Regions from separate parts of the Homo sapiens genome. Here region 2 is linked to region 1. The links are contacts of gene promoters, found by promoter capture Hi-C in human tissues and cell types (Jung and others, 2019). All regions are on one chromosome and are shown on one strand. The core of a region is centred on a gene start or on the middle of the fragment in contact, and the rest is flanking DNA. Distances in the headings are between cores, read along the strand shown.

What was found. The method cuts DNA at HindIII sites, captures the fragments that hold promoters and counts their contacts. A contact is called where the count stands out against the background at its distance.
Region 2: a fragment that was not itself captured here is called in contact with the fragment with the promoter of SLC8A3 in region 1 in 1 of the 25 tissues and cell types used here (pancreas).

The regions. Positions count from the first base shown.
Region 1 is chr14:70,187,552-70,193,761 of GRCh38, reverse strand. It overlaps SLC8A3 (solute carrier family 8 member A3), which reads left to right and starts at 4,811. Exons shown (of 7, transcript NM_182932.3): 1 at 4,811-5,383. It also overlaps the pseudogene LOC646548. RefSeq lists silencers at 4,837-5,166, 5,237-5,376. The HindIII fragment of the contact is 13,926 bases long and covers 1-6,210 here.
Region 2 is chr14:70,341,889-70,348,098 of GRCh38, reverse strand. All of the region lies in intron 3 of SYNJ2BP-COX16 (SYNJ2BP-COX16 readthrough), which reads left to right. It overlaps COX16 (cytochrome c oxidase assembly factor COX16), which reads left to right. Exons shown (of 4, transcript NM_016468.7): 2 at 5,370-5,441. It overlaps LOC124903340 (a long non-coding RNA gene), which reads right to left and starts at 2,964. Exons shown (of 2, transcript XR_007064238.1): 1 at 2,906-2,964; 2 at 1-1,771. The HindIII fragment of the contact is 3,026 bases long and covers 1,978-5,003 here.

The sequences.
Region 1 (6,210 bases), core at 3,562-6,061:
AAACTATACATAAATGAAAAATCACAAATTGCTGCTACACACAACAATATGAATGAACATCACCAAAATTATGCTGAGCAAAGAACCCCCAAAACAGTACTTTCCATCTGCTTCCATTTACGTAGAGTTCAAAGTCACATAAGATTAATGTGTGGTTTTAGAAGTCAGGAGAGCCGTTCCCTCTGGAGAAGAGGAAGAAGCATCGCTGGGAGAGGCACGAGGGGAGCTGCTGGGGTACTGGTAATATTTATTGTTCTGGATGATGATTAAATAAAATATATTCACATTGTGAAAATTCTTTGAGCTATAGTCATGACTTGTGCACATTTCTGTATGTATATCCTACTGCAATAAACTTTATAAAAGGAAAAATAAATAATTGACAAATTTTTGAAATACAAGTTATAATGAGATTAAAAATAATATAACGCATAGGGAAGAATTATGTCTCACTAAATAAATACCCTATTATCAGACAGGGTTTACTAAACTTCCATCCTCCCTACAGAGCTGTTCCAGAACTTACTTTTAGCTTCCACTTGACTGCTGTTGTTTCTCAACTGCTATCAGATTGTATAGTCCAAGGGCTGTGGAATGCTGGCACCTAGGTTGCTTGTGAGAAGAGACACTGTGGCTTGTGTGGGATGCAGTGCCACTGGTGGCCAGGACTGGCAGGTCGTCTGCTTATGAAGTGCCTGAGGCCCCGCTTTTGGAGAGGCACTGACTTGTGGAGTTCTGCAGCATAATGGCAAATACTGGGGCCCCACCAAGAAGCCATGTGGTCCCTTCCCACTATTCATCCCATCTGCCCTATTACTTGCTGCTCAGCCTCTAGAGAAAGGGTATTCTATGACAAGGACTCACAGAATTAGGGCTACTATGACAAAATACCAAAGACTGAGTGGCTTAACTAACAGAAATTATTTTCTCATAGTTCTGGAGCCTAGAACTCCCACATCAAGGTGTCAGCACATTTGATTTCTCTCTCCTTGGCTTGCCTTCTCGCTGTGTCCTCACAAGGTTGTCCCTCTGTCTGTCTGTGTCCTAATCTCCTCTTCTTATAAGGATAGCAGTCATAGTGGATTAGGGCCCACACTGACGGCACTGTTTTAATTTTATTACCTTTTTAAAGACCCTGTCTCAAAACCCAGGCACATTCTGGGTACTAAGGGCTAGGGCTTCAACACACAAGTTTTGGGACACACAATTCAGTCCATAAAAGAGTCTGTCTAGTTCTTACCAAGCTCTGTGACTGGGCTGAATCCTGTAGCTTCTCGGGTCCTGAGTTTCTTCCCAACTTGAAAATGAGGTTTGTGGCTCTTGCTCCCAATGCTGATGTTACACAGCTTACTTTCCATCTTCCTTGTGAACATCTCCTTGGGTTCCAGTACAGCTAGATATAAGTAACAATGGCAGAAATGCAAGTACGGTGTCATTACATTTAATGTTTTCCAACCCTGTATGCATGTAGTGGGGAGAAAAAAAGAAGTGAGAATGTCCAGAGTTGAAAGCAGTCTGAGACTTCATAGGCCACGTGAAGGTTGGCTGTAGAACTTAAGATGGGAGAGAAGCAGGGTTGGGGGAGAACAAAAGTAGGGGAGAAGGAGAATTGATATATATTTGGGGATTGGTCTGTACCAGAAACTGTAATCTCACTGAAGCTTCACAACAACCTCACGAGGTGGGTATTATTATTATTAATAATAATAATTAATAATAATAATAATAATTATTATTATTATTAATAATAATAATTATTATTATTCCCATTTTACTGGTGAGGACACTGAGGCTCAGAATGCAGAGCTGGGCTTTGCTATTTCAGTCTACCTAGAACTCAGAGGAACCTACGCAAGTCAGCTCTGCCGACAGCGTTGGTTGAACATGCTTTGGCACCTCTTGCCTTCCTCCCCGCAGCATTGCCCTGTCACAGGTGACAAGAGGAAGACAAGGTTCCTGTCTGTTTTGTTTGGTAGTTCTAAAAAAATGACATGACCAATTCTGTTGTTGTTGCTGGTTCAGTTTTAGTGAATAGGTAATGTTCACTGAAAATATATCAATAGATATTAACAAGCAAACAAATAAAATTCTGGCACAAGCAAAACTAAGCCACAGTGACAGAAAGCAGATCAATAGTTGCCTGTGGGAAGAGCGGATGAGTATAAAGGGGCCTGAGAGGACTTCTGGGGGAGATGAAAATGTTCTATGTCTTGACTGAGGTTGTTGCTCTACATGTATGTACTTGTATAAAAACTCTTCAAACTATACACTTAAAACAGGTGAGTTTTTAGTAGTAGTAGTGATGTTTGGATACCTGTAACTTTATCTCCATTAGAAATGTCAGATATTTTAATATCATCAGTTAGTTTTTGCAGGTATCTTGAAATATTATTCATGTTCCTCACTACTGGGATAGTTTTGCAGATTCATGTTCCTCACTACTGAGATAGTCATTTAGCCTGTGCACTAGACCTTGCTTTTGATGCCTTCATAAAGCATAGATCAGAAAAAAGGTGAGTTGTTGTATGTAAATTACACCTCAATAAAGTTGATTGATACAAAGAGAAACAAAATCACCAGAAATCCCACCACCAAGAGATAACCACTACCATTTTGGGGTTTTTATGCTGCCAGGGCATTCATCCCCACCCCGCCACCCCCGCACATGCTGTGTTACACTGTGTTCTGGGGTTTTTTTTCTCTCTGTCTACGATATATTATAAAAACCTTTCCACACCAGTACACAGAATGCTGCATCTGTATTTTTACAGTGGTAGAATACAGCATTATGTCAACAAAACATGTTTACTTCACCAATTTGTTGTGTTGGAAAATTAAGATGTTTCCAATTTTTCACTCTTAAAAACACTACCATGAATATCCTTGTAACTAAATATTTGAGCATATCCTTAATGATTGCCATAGAATAAATTTCTTCCAGTAAAATTACTGGGTCACAGGCATTCACGTTTTTAAGGAATTTGATGTATCTTTCAAAATTGCCCTACCTAAAAACTCTATCAATTTAGGTGCCCATTAGCCATCTCTTTGTCTCTACTGTAGACTCTCAATGTGTAGACTCAGCATTGTGACTCTCCACGGGAGCAGACACAAGGTAAGTCCCAGTAACTGACATATCCTGAGATCCCACAACTTTAGAAGCTATTGAAACCTTTCAAAGTCAGTCCCAGCCCTAACTTTAAATGAAATTCAAGACCCATAAAGGTTCAGGGGTCTGAAAGCACTCCTACTGCTCCTACTGAGCACATCCAGGATTCTGACTCCGGACTCAGGCCAGAAACCACCACACAGCTTGCTAACGGAACACTGAGTCAAAGGACCAGCAAAGACCTCCTGCCATCTCAGGCTTAGAGATTCCCTAGTCTCTACACCCCCTTAATCTGTTTGAACCAAGCCTTGCTCCAGAGCAGCCGGGCAAAGGAGCCAGGGATCTCAGGAGTCACACACACTGTTGACGTCTCAGCACAACTCCGGTTGGTTGCATTTTATTTCAATCCTTGGCTCTGCTGCACGTGGCCTTGGGATGGTTATTTAACCTAAGGCTCAATTTCCTCAACAAAAAAATGGAGTTGGTAATTGTACCTAGCTCACAGAGTTTTAGTAGGATGGCATGAGGTAATACAATCAAATTCACTAGCACCACTCCTGGCCCTTAAAAGGTGCTGCTATTTGGTAAGTATTATTATCATTTGTTGGCCCCTCACACTTAGCCTCAGGCAGCAGAGAGGCCTGAAAGAGAACAACTTCCTGCCCTTACATTCTGACTTTTCTGCACTGGTGTCGCTACAGAAGGCCAGCCACCAGGCTCATTTTAGATCTGCCTAATGCCACCGATAAGCTGAGGGCTTGAAACCCCATTCTTAGGAGTGGCTTGCCCACCCCGCATGCCTCTAGGACCAAGCCTGACAAATATAGCAGAAATTACAGGCATCTGATTTAAGGCTACGTGTGTACACTTCGCCTGAGCCAAGCCCCAAGCCCTAGTCCCGCTGCTGCATCAAAGGACCAGCTCTCTTCCAGCCTCCAGGCCCAGAGTAAGCAGCAATTTGGGAGGCAGCCCCCTCTTATTTTTAGCTTTAGAAACCCGAAAAGCCAACATACCAGAGCTCACCCAAGCGTCTCTCACAAACTGTTGTTTGACTTGGGTTGAGAAAATGACAGGCTGGGTTCTGCACCAAGAAGAGAAGAAAAAAAGAGGGGGAAAAAAGGAGTTTTCTTTTCCCTCCGCTGCCAATCTCCATCCCCCTCAACTCCTCCCCTAGGCCTGGGTGGACCCTGCCTGGGTAATAGTTCCCTGCTATATTTAAAAACCACAGATGTGTTTGGTGGAGACTTAATTTCGGAATTGCAGGCAGCGTCTCCTGAGGACAAGGGGAAAGCCGGTGCCGCGCGCCCGCCTGCTGCCTGGAGCTCCCAACTCGGCGGAATCCAGGTCAGGACGCGCCGCCGTTTTGACGTGCTGCCGGCCGGGAGGCGCGGGCGCCAGGCTCCAACGACTAGGGTGGGTGGCCGCGGGGCAGGGGTTGGATCTGAATTCGTCCCTCGGGGGCTCTGGATGCGGGATGCGGGATGCGGGATGCGGGCTCGACTTCCTCGCTGCTGGTCGAGGAGCGTTCTGAGAGTCTCCCCTCCGCGCGCGAGGATAAATATGCGCGGCTTGTCAGTCAGTGCGGCGCTGTCTCCCAGCTGATAGGGTGACGTTCCGTTTGGAGGCTTGGAGATTGGCTTTTTGATTTGGCTTCTTCCGGCAGCTTAATGGGCAAAGCTCTCCGCTCGCCCAGAAACCAGCCTCTCCGCGCGTCCCCTCTGCGCGCGGCGAGGCCGAGACGTCTCCCGCGGTGACAGCGTGCAAGGCGGAGACCCGGCGCGCTCCCAGCCCAGGGAAAGCCCAGGCGACGCGACCGCAAGCCCGAGCCCAGGTCCCTCGGAGCCGCCAGGGCGCGCCGGGCTGCTTGCCTTCCTGCCCCTTCCTGCAGGAATCCCCCGCCGCCCGCGGCCGGGACTCCGGGCCTCTCCCGGGCGTAGATTCCAGTCACCGCTCTGGGTCGGGGTTTCCCTCTTTCTGAAATCCGTGCGGAAGGACCCCTCCCGGGGCCCCTCGCCCTGGCCCCAGACACCCTCCCTCCCAGACCCCGCGCTCCAGATGCGCTGCCCCGCAGCTCCCTGACAGCTGCGAGCCCACGAACCCCGGCGGGAGGGCGGCGGCGGCGGACTGACATGCCCCGGACGCGGCTGCGGCCGGCGGGCAGCCCGCGGGGGCGATGAGCCGCTGCGACCGGTGAGGCGCCGGGCGGCGGGGGCATCGCGTACCTTCCTCACCCCCCTCCCTTGCCCACTCCGCTCGGGAGGCCGAGAGGAAACGGTGAGTAATGGGGTGAGCCTCCTGCCCTTCCCCCTTAGCGGGCAGCCGAGACATGGGAGGTAGAGGTTGGGGGGCTTGGGATGCCCCTAAGAGGATCCCTGATTGTGAGTAACGGGGTTAAGTTATTTCTCAAGATCATTCATATGAACCGCCTTCCTGTGGATTTAGTGCCAGGAGAAGTGGGGTGAGGGTGCCCCGGAAAGTGTACATTGTGTATGCAGTGTTGGGGGGGCAGATCTGGCAGAGTGGGTGTCTACAGGAGGGTGCCGCCGGGTGGGGAGGGGCAGAGAGAGATGCCTGGGCAGGTGGGTACAGTTGGATCGTGAGCATGCTGGGTTGGTAGCGGGTGCTGTTTGGGGAGACTGACTGCTGTGTTGTGTGTGCTGGATGCATGTCGGCATATGTGTGCCACCTGGGCCAGGGCGTGTTGTGCTTCTGGTGCTGTGAGTGTCCGCCGGGTTTGGGGGCTAGCAGGGAAGCGCGTTATCCACTCGGCGCGCGCCCGCGTGCACATACGCACGCACGCGCTCACCCCAATCTCGGGACTCCACCGCCGCGGGTCGGGAGCTGCAGCCCCAGAGCACCCACCGCTGGGGCCAAGGGGGCGAGGGAGAAGGAGGGTTTCTCCAGTGCTGCACTCTCCAGCCCCTGGTGGTCTGCGTGATCCGGGACTCGGTGGAGAGAATCGAAATATATAACTAACCCTCCCCCGATCCCCCAACACACACGCGCGCGCGGACACACACACACACACACACACACACACACACACACACACAGTCAAAGCCCTGATTCAGAGGCTAGCGCTGCTGCTCCTACAGGCCCTG
Region 2 (6,210 bases), core at 2,241-4,740, 160 kb before region 1:
GGGTGGGTCTCTTAGACTGGGTTAGAACACCTAGTGCAACTCTACACGTTCGTTGGTATAGAGGGAGAAAGGTTTGGTGAGGTCTGGGAGAGTGAGGATGGGGGCTGAGATGAGAGTCTTCTGGAGTAGATGGAAAGGTTGGGTAATAGGCTATGCAGGGTTTGAAGGCTCATGGAGAGGGCCTTTAGTGTCTTGGTATAATGGTTTGGCAAGTAGAGCAAAGGAGGGAACCCAGAGCCTAACATATCCCACTAGTCCTAGGAAAGAGAATTTCTTGCTTAGTTTGCAGAGGTGGGAGAGACTGGAGGAGGGATATGTGGTCGGTTGTGAGCCCTCGGGTTCATGGGGTAAGAGCCAGGCCTAGATAAGTGACTAAGGGGGCTCATATTTGTGCTTTCTTAGGGGAGACCCGATACCTCCGTTCTGCCAAGAAGTTTAAAAGAGAGAGATAGCATGGGCGTTGCAGTCTCTTTGAGAGGGGCTACACAGGAGCAGATCATTAACACATTGAAGGAGAGTGGACGGTTTTAGGGATAAGGTACAGAGGTCATGAGCAAGGGCCTGTCCAAAAAGATGGGGGCTGTCTCTGAAACCTTGAGGTAGTACGCACCAGGTGAGCTGATGTGAAAGGTGGGTGTCGGGGTTTTCCCATGTAAAGGCAAAGAGGTTTTGGGAATCAGGGTGTAAAGGAATTGTGGAAAAAAGCATCCTTTAGGTATAGAACAGGAAAATGGGTGGTATTGGAGGGAATTGCAGAAAGTAAAGTATATGGGTTAGGAACTACTGGACATACTGGGAGTACAGCTTGGTTAATGAGCCTGAGGTCCTGGACTAAGTGATAAGTTCCATCTGGCTTTTAAACAGGTAGAACTGGTGTGTTAAAAGGAGAGTTTCTTGGGTGGAGTAGGTGACTGGTGAGGCGGCGAGAAATGATAGGCTTTAGGCCTATGAGAGCTGCTTGGGGGATGGGATACTGCTTCTGTGATAGGAACTGGGTGGACTCTTTAAGGGTAATGCGGACGGGGGTGTGGTGTTTTGCGACTGAAGGTGTGGAAATATTCTAAACAGCGGGGTTAACTACGGATGGGGGATAAGGTAAAGTTGCATGTTTTAAGGTGGCAGGTTGGAGGAGTAGAAGAAAGTTAGATGCCCCGAGGGGTCTGGGTTGATGCGTTGGGTACTATGGGGAATGTGCAAGTGGAGAGTAGTGTGGAGTTTTGAAAGGATGTCTCTGGTATGAGGGCAGGACTAAGAAAGGGTGACTGAAGGAAAAGGTGTGCAGGGAGCAGAAAAGTGGAGGGGTGGCTCAGGGTTTGGAGTCTTGTCTGTCAATTCCCACAACGGAGAAAAGGGAGGACTGGGTGTGTCCTGAAAAATTAGGTAAAGCAGAGTAGTTTGCCCGGTATTAATTAAAAAAAAAATACTGGCCTACCTGCCACCATCAGGGTTACCCTTGGCTCGGATGAAGCGATGGTAGTTGCCGGGGCATCCATTCCAGGGCACCATCAATCTTCAGCGGCAAGGCCAATGAGATCCAAGTAGGAGGTTTTGGCCGGCTTAGGAAGTGATGGGGCCGCCCTTGCAGGGGCCGCTCACAGTCCAATTTCCATTGGGGTCCTCTGCAGAGGGGGCATGGCCTGGTGGGCTTACCTGGATTTGGGCATTGTCTGGACCAGTGGCCTTCATTGCCGCACTTGAAAAGGTGCCAAGTGGAGGTAGGTTGCTAGGAGGCTTCCGTGTGGAGCTGCGGACCCGTGGGCCTGCAGGGCCCCTGATGGCGGAGGCAAGCATTTGAAACTCCGCCTGTTTTTGCCTTTTACTTTCCCTATCACGATTGTTAAAGACTATGAAGGCTAAATTAAGACGGTCTTGTGAGGTTTGAGGGCCATCATCAAGCTTCTGAAGCTTGCACCGAATATCGGGGGTGGATTGGGAGATGAACCGAAGGTTTAAGATAATGGTTCGTTCTGAGGGTTTGAAGGGGGAAGGAGGGTTAACAGGCAGTGGAGGATAGGCAGGGGCGTAAGGTGGCGGGATGAGTTTACAAGCTTTAGGAGAGGGCAGTGGGGGAGGAGAATGGGTACAGGCAATACTAGAATTGTCCCGAGGAGGGGATGGTGTAGGAAAAGAAGTGGATACAGCTGACTGGGAAGATGGCAGCTGGGAAGATGGCAGCTGAGAAGACAACGAGGAGGCTTGGGGGGTTAAAAAAGATGGTTGAGAGGAAAAGGTAGGGGTTGGGAGGGGTGGATAGCAGTCAGTTGGATCGAACGAGAAAAATGAGGTAGGGTCGGGAGGAGAAAGGCGATCAGGGCGGTGAGAATGGAGGGGAAGGATTTGAACAGGTAAGCAAGAATTGCAGAGGTTGGGTTGTGAACTGAGTGCAAAAAGGCCTGGACATAAGGAATTTCTTCCCATTTTTCCAGTCGTCGGCAATAATTGCTTAAGTCAGTTAAAATTGTAAAGTTGAATGTTCTATTTGCAGGCCATTTGGACCCATTATTTAATTTGTACTGTGGCCAGGCTGTATTGCAAAAAAGACAGGTACTTAGAGCGAATATCTTGCCTGAGGCCTAAGGTTTGCAGGTTTTTTATGAAGCAGCCTAGAGGGCTGTTGTTTGGAATGGAGGACCGGAGTTTCCCATAACAGAGGGTAGGCTCAGGAGAACAGGGAAAAAGGAGACCATCCTGGAGGGAGATGATAAAAGGAGCAACTGTCACCGCTGCCTTTTTCGTTCCTGGAACACGATCAAATGGCTTAGAGGCATCCCCCTAAGACCAGATGATCAGCGAGTGCCTGGCACACGCCGGCGCCTTCTTGGACCAACACTGGATATTCGGACCAGAGAAACTAAGAGAGGCCGTGTGAATTTTCCCTGCTAACTGGGCCCCTGAGGAAACTTACCAGTAAGCAAGATCAGTGACCAATGTGCATGCACAGAGAGGCAACTGGAGATCGAGGAGCTTCCTTTGTCTGGCTGCTGTGGCCTGCTGTCTGGGGTGGAGGGGTAGGTTCACAGGGGACGTGGACCAGAACCTCTCCCGGGTTTCAGCACCAGATGTACGGTTCTTGTATCGGTTGGAACCCTGAGAGCGCACCAACAGACAACATGAGGTGGTGAGGAGCAACATGCTGTTTTGATGAGCGCGTGGGTGCAGGTGGGCTGAGGCCTAAAATGGCATCAGCCCCAAGTGAGGATGGGACAAAGGTTTTATAGTCTCCTGTAAACAGGAAGTGTCCTAGTCTGACATAATTGCTCTGTTGTACCTGGATGGCCTCTTTCTCAATCTTCAGGGGTACGTATTTTCCGGCCGGCTCTCTTCCTGCTTCTGCTATCTTGCTGGTGCACACTGCTGGTACAAGTAGCCTTGTGCCTTGGGACTGGGCCTGAGAAGGGATGAGTTGTTCATCTCCTTAAGCTTTCAGGTCCCAGGGAGAATCTTACACTATTCATCCCTGCTCTGAGATGTCAGGGAAATCTACAGGTGTCTTCTGAAATCCAAAGTCCATTCTAAGCTTGTTTTATAAGAGCGACACACAATAAGTAATGGTGAGTGAGTTTCTCCTTGTGGTCATTAACTTTTGTAGCAATACTGAAACCGCCTTTGCAAAATTATAACTGAGGAAATTATGACAATGAAAGAAATCAGACCTAACTGACTCCATCTTGCTTCTAACCTGTAAGCTGCCCTTGTTCATTCCTGGGCATAGGCCGAACTATGGGAAGGAATTCAGTTCATGGTTTGACTCTGAAACAAAATTGATAATAGCCCTTTCCCAAAAAGACTCCCTTCTTGCCTGGGGACCAGTCTGCCTTTGCAGGACCAACAAATTAGCTACAAGATTAGAAATTACAGTTTATGGGTCATGCAGCCTCTGGCTCCAAGAGCCTGAACCTCCCAAATTGCTCCTGGGGATAACATCGCTATTGTAAAACCTAACATCAGTTCTTGAGATATTTTGCAGACCCTGCACTGGATGGATCAGCTGACATTACCCAGACGGGTAATTGGGCTCAACCAGTTCTGCCATCCCACCCAGTGACAGAAAACAGCAAGGAAAGCTCACTTTGCCCCCTATGAGTCCAACTCCAAACTGACCAATCAGCACACTCCCCACTTCCCAAGCCCCTACCCACCAAATTATCTAAAAACTCTGATCCCTGAATGCTCGGGGAGACTGATTTGAGTAATAATAAAACTCCGGTTTCCACACAGCTGGCTCTGCAATTCCCCATTGTTATTCCCCATTGTAATTCCCCTGTCTTGATAAATCAGCTCTGTCTAGGTAGCACGCAAGGTGAACCCATTCGGTGGTTACAATTCTTTATTATGAAGTTTAAATCTTTTGAAAATACTGTGCCTCAAATAGGTGCCAGCAAAAACATGAAAGTGATTCTGTATATCTTAAGATGATGTTTCAGAATTTCACTATATAGTAAGAATTTGAAGACTTTCTTTACCTGTGACCTGTATAGCCATATTGTCCCTGGGAATACAATGTGATATACAGAATATTCTGCAGCAAGTTTTCATGAGATTTCTTTATCACTTGGTAAGGTAATGAGAACTCCAATTGCCTTATTTTGAAAAATCATAAAATCAAAAGAATTCTGGTCTTGAAGGAAAAAATGGCAAGTTTTACTGCTGGGTTTACCTTGTGTAATCATAGTACGAAAAGAAGGAAAACCTTAAACAAAAAAACAATAATGTTATAGAGTTTATTTGAACAAAGAAAATTCATGAATCAGGCAGCACTCAGAACCAGAAGTTGAGAGAGCTCCATTCTGCAATATGGGCAATGAGTATAGACAAAACAGGAAAGTGAAGTACAGAAATAGCTTGGTTGGTTATAGCTAGGCATCTGCCTTATTTGGACATGGTCTGATCAGTTGATCAGGTTTCAATTTCATTACTTACTAAGGAAGATCGCATAGCAATGGAATTACAGAGACATCCCTGGGCAAAATTTAAGTTAACAATGGACAAGTCATTTAGCTGGCTGTGCTTTTATTTCCTCATTTGTTGAATTTGTTTTTGTTTTTGTTTTTTTCTTAGCAAAAAACAAAAATAGGTCTATTGTAAGAGTCAGATAATACAATGCTTGTTATGATGTCATTTAAATCATAAGGTCAAATACAGGTATAGGGTGACGATTTTGGTATTTGGTAATGATGTGCTATAATGATTTCCTAGCCAGTATATACTGCATTTACTCTAAAAGATGAATGGTGACTCACCAGGAAAAATAATCTATAGAATTTTTGTATAATGTGCCTCTATTGTTGTTTAGAAAAGCAATCTATAGATAGGCTGAATTTGAATTCTGGTCTTCTGTTTTGCTTAAATGTTTCCTTTCTTTGTTTTAGTTGCTGATTGTTGGAGGTTCTTTTGGTCTTCGTGAGTTTTCTCAAATCCGATATGATGCTGTGAAGAGTAAAGTAAGAAATATAATTAGAGTTTGACATGTGTCTGTCTATATGTATGTTCTGGTTTAGGAGAATTGTATACTCAGTATACTAAGTAGTCTGAGTTTGTCTTGCTTTTCAACACTAAGATGTGATCTTTGTTTTTTTCTTTAAAATAACATTAGTGATCACATGGCAGTGAATCATGAAATGTAACTAATTTCGTAATCTTTCTTTTTTTCTTTTGCCACGGGGTCTCACTCTGTCGCTCAGACTGGAGTGCAGTGGCCTATCCTGGTTCACTGCAACCTCTGCCTCCCAGGCTCAAGCAATTCTCTTGTCTCAGCCTCCCGAGTAGCTGAGATTACAGGTGTGCGCCACTACCACCCGGCTAATTTTTGTATTTTTAGTAGAGATGGGGTTTCACTATGTTGGCCAGGCTGGTCTTGAACTCCTGACCTCAAATGATCCACCCGCCTTGGCCTTCCAAAGTGTTGGGATTACAGGTGTGAGCCACTGTGCCCAGTCTAGTAATCTTTCTTATTTCATTAGGAAATTTGCAATGTTGTTAGCATTCTCCCACAAAATATGATCTGATGTAGCTGTTTTTAGAATTTAGAAGGGATTAAAAAACAGAGGTCAATAATTTTGCTTTATTTTATTTCTCTTAATTTAATATTAATATCAGTAATTGTATAAAGTATATTGATATGTATCTTTAATAACTGTTACTAAAAGGAAAACTATTTTTCAGTATAAATAAAGACAGCTACATTTATAGTATCTACTTTGTAGTAGGACT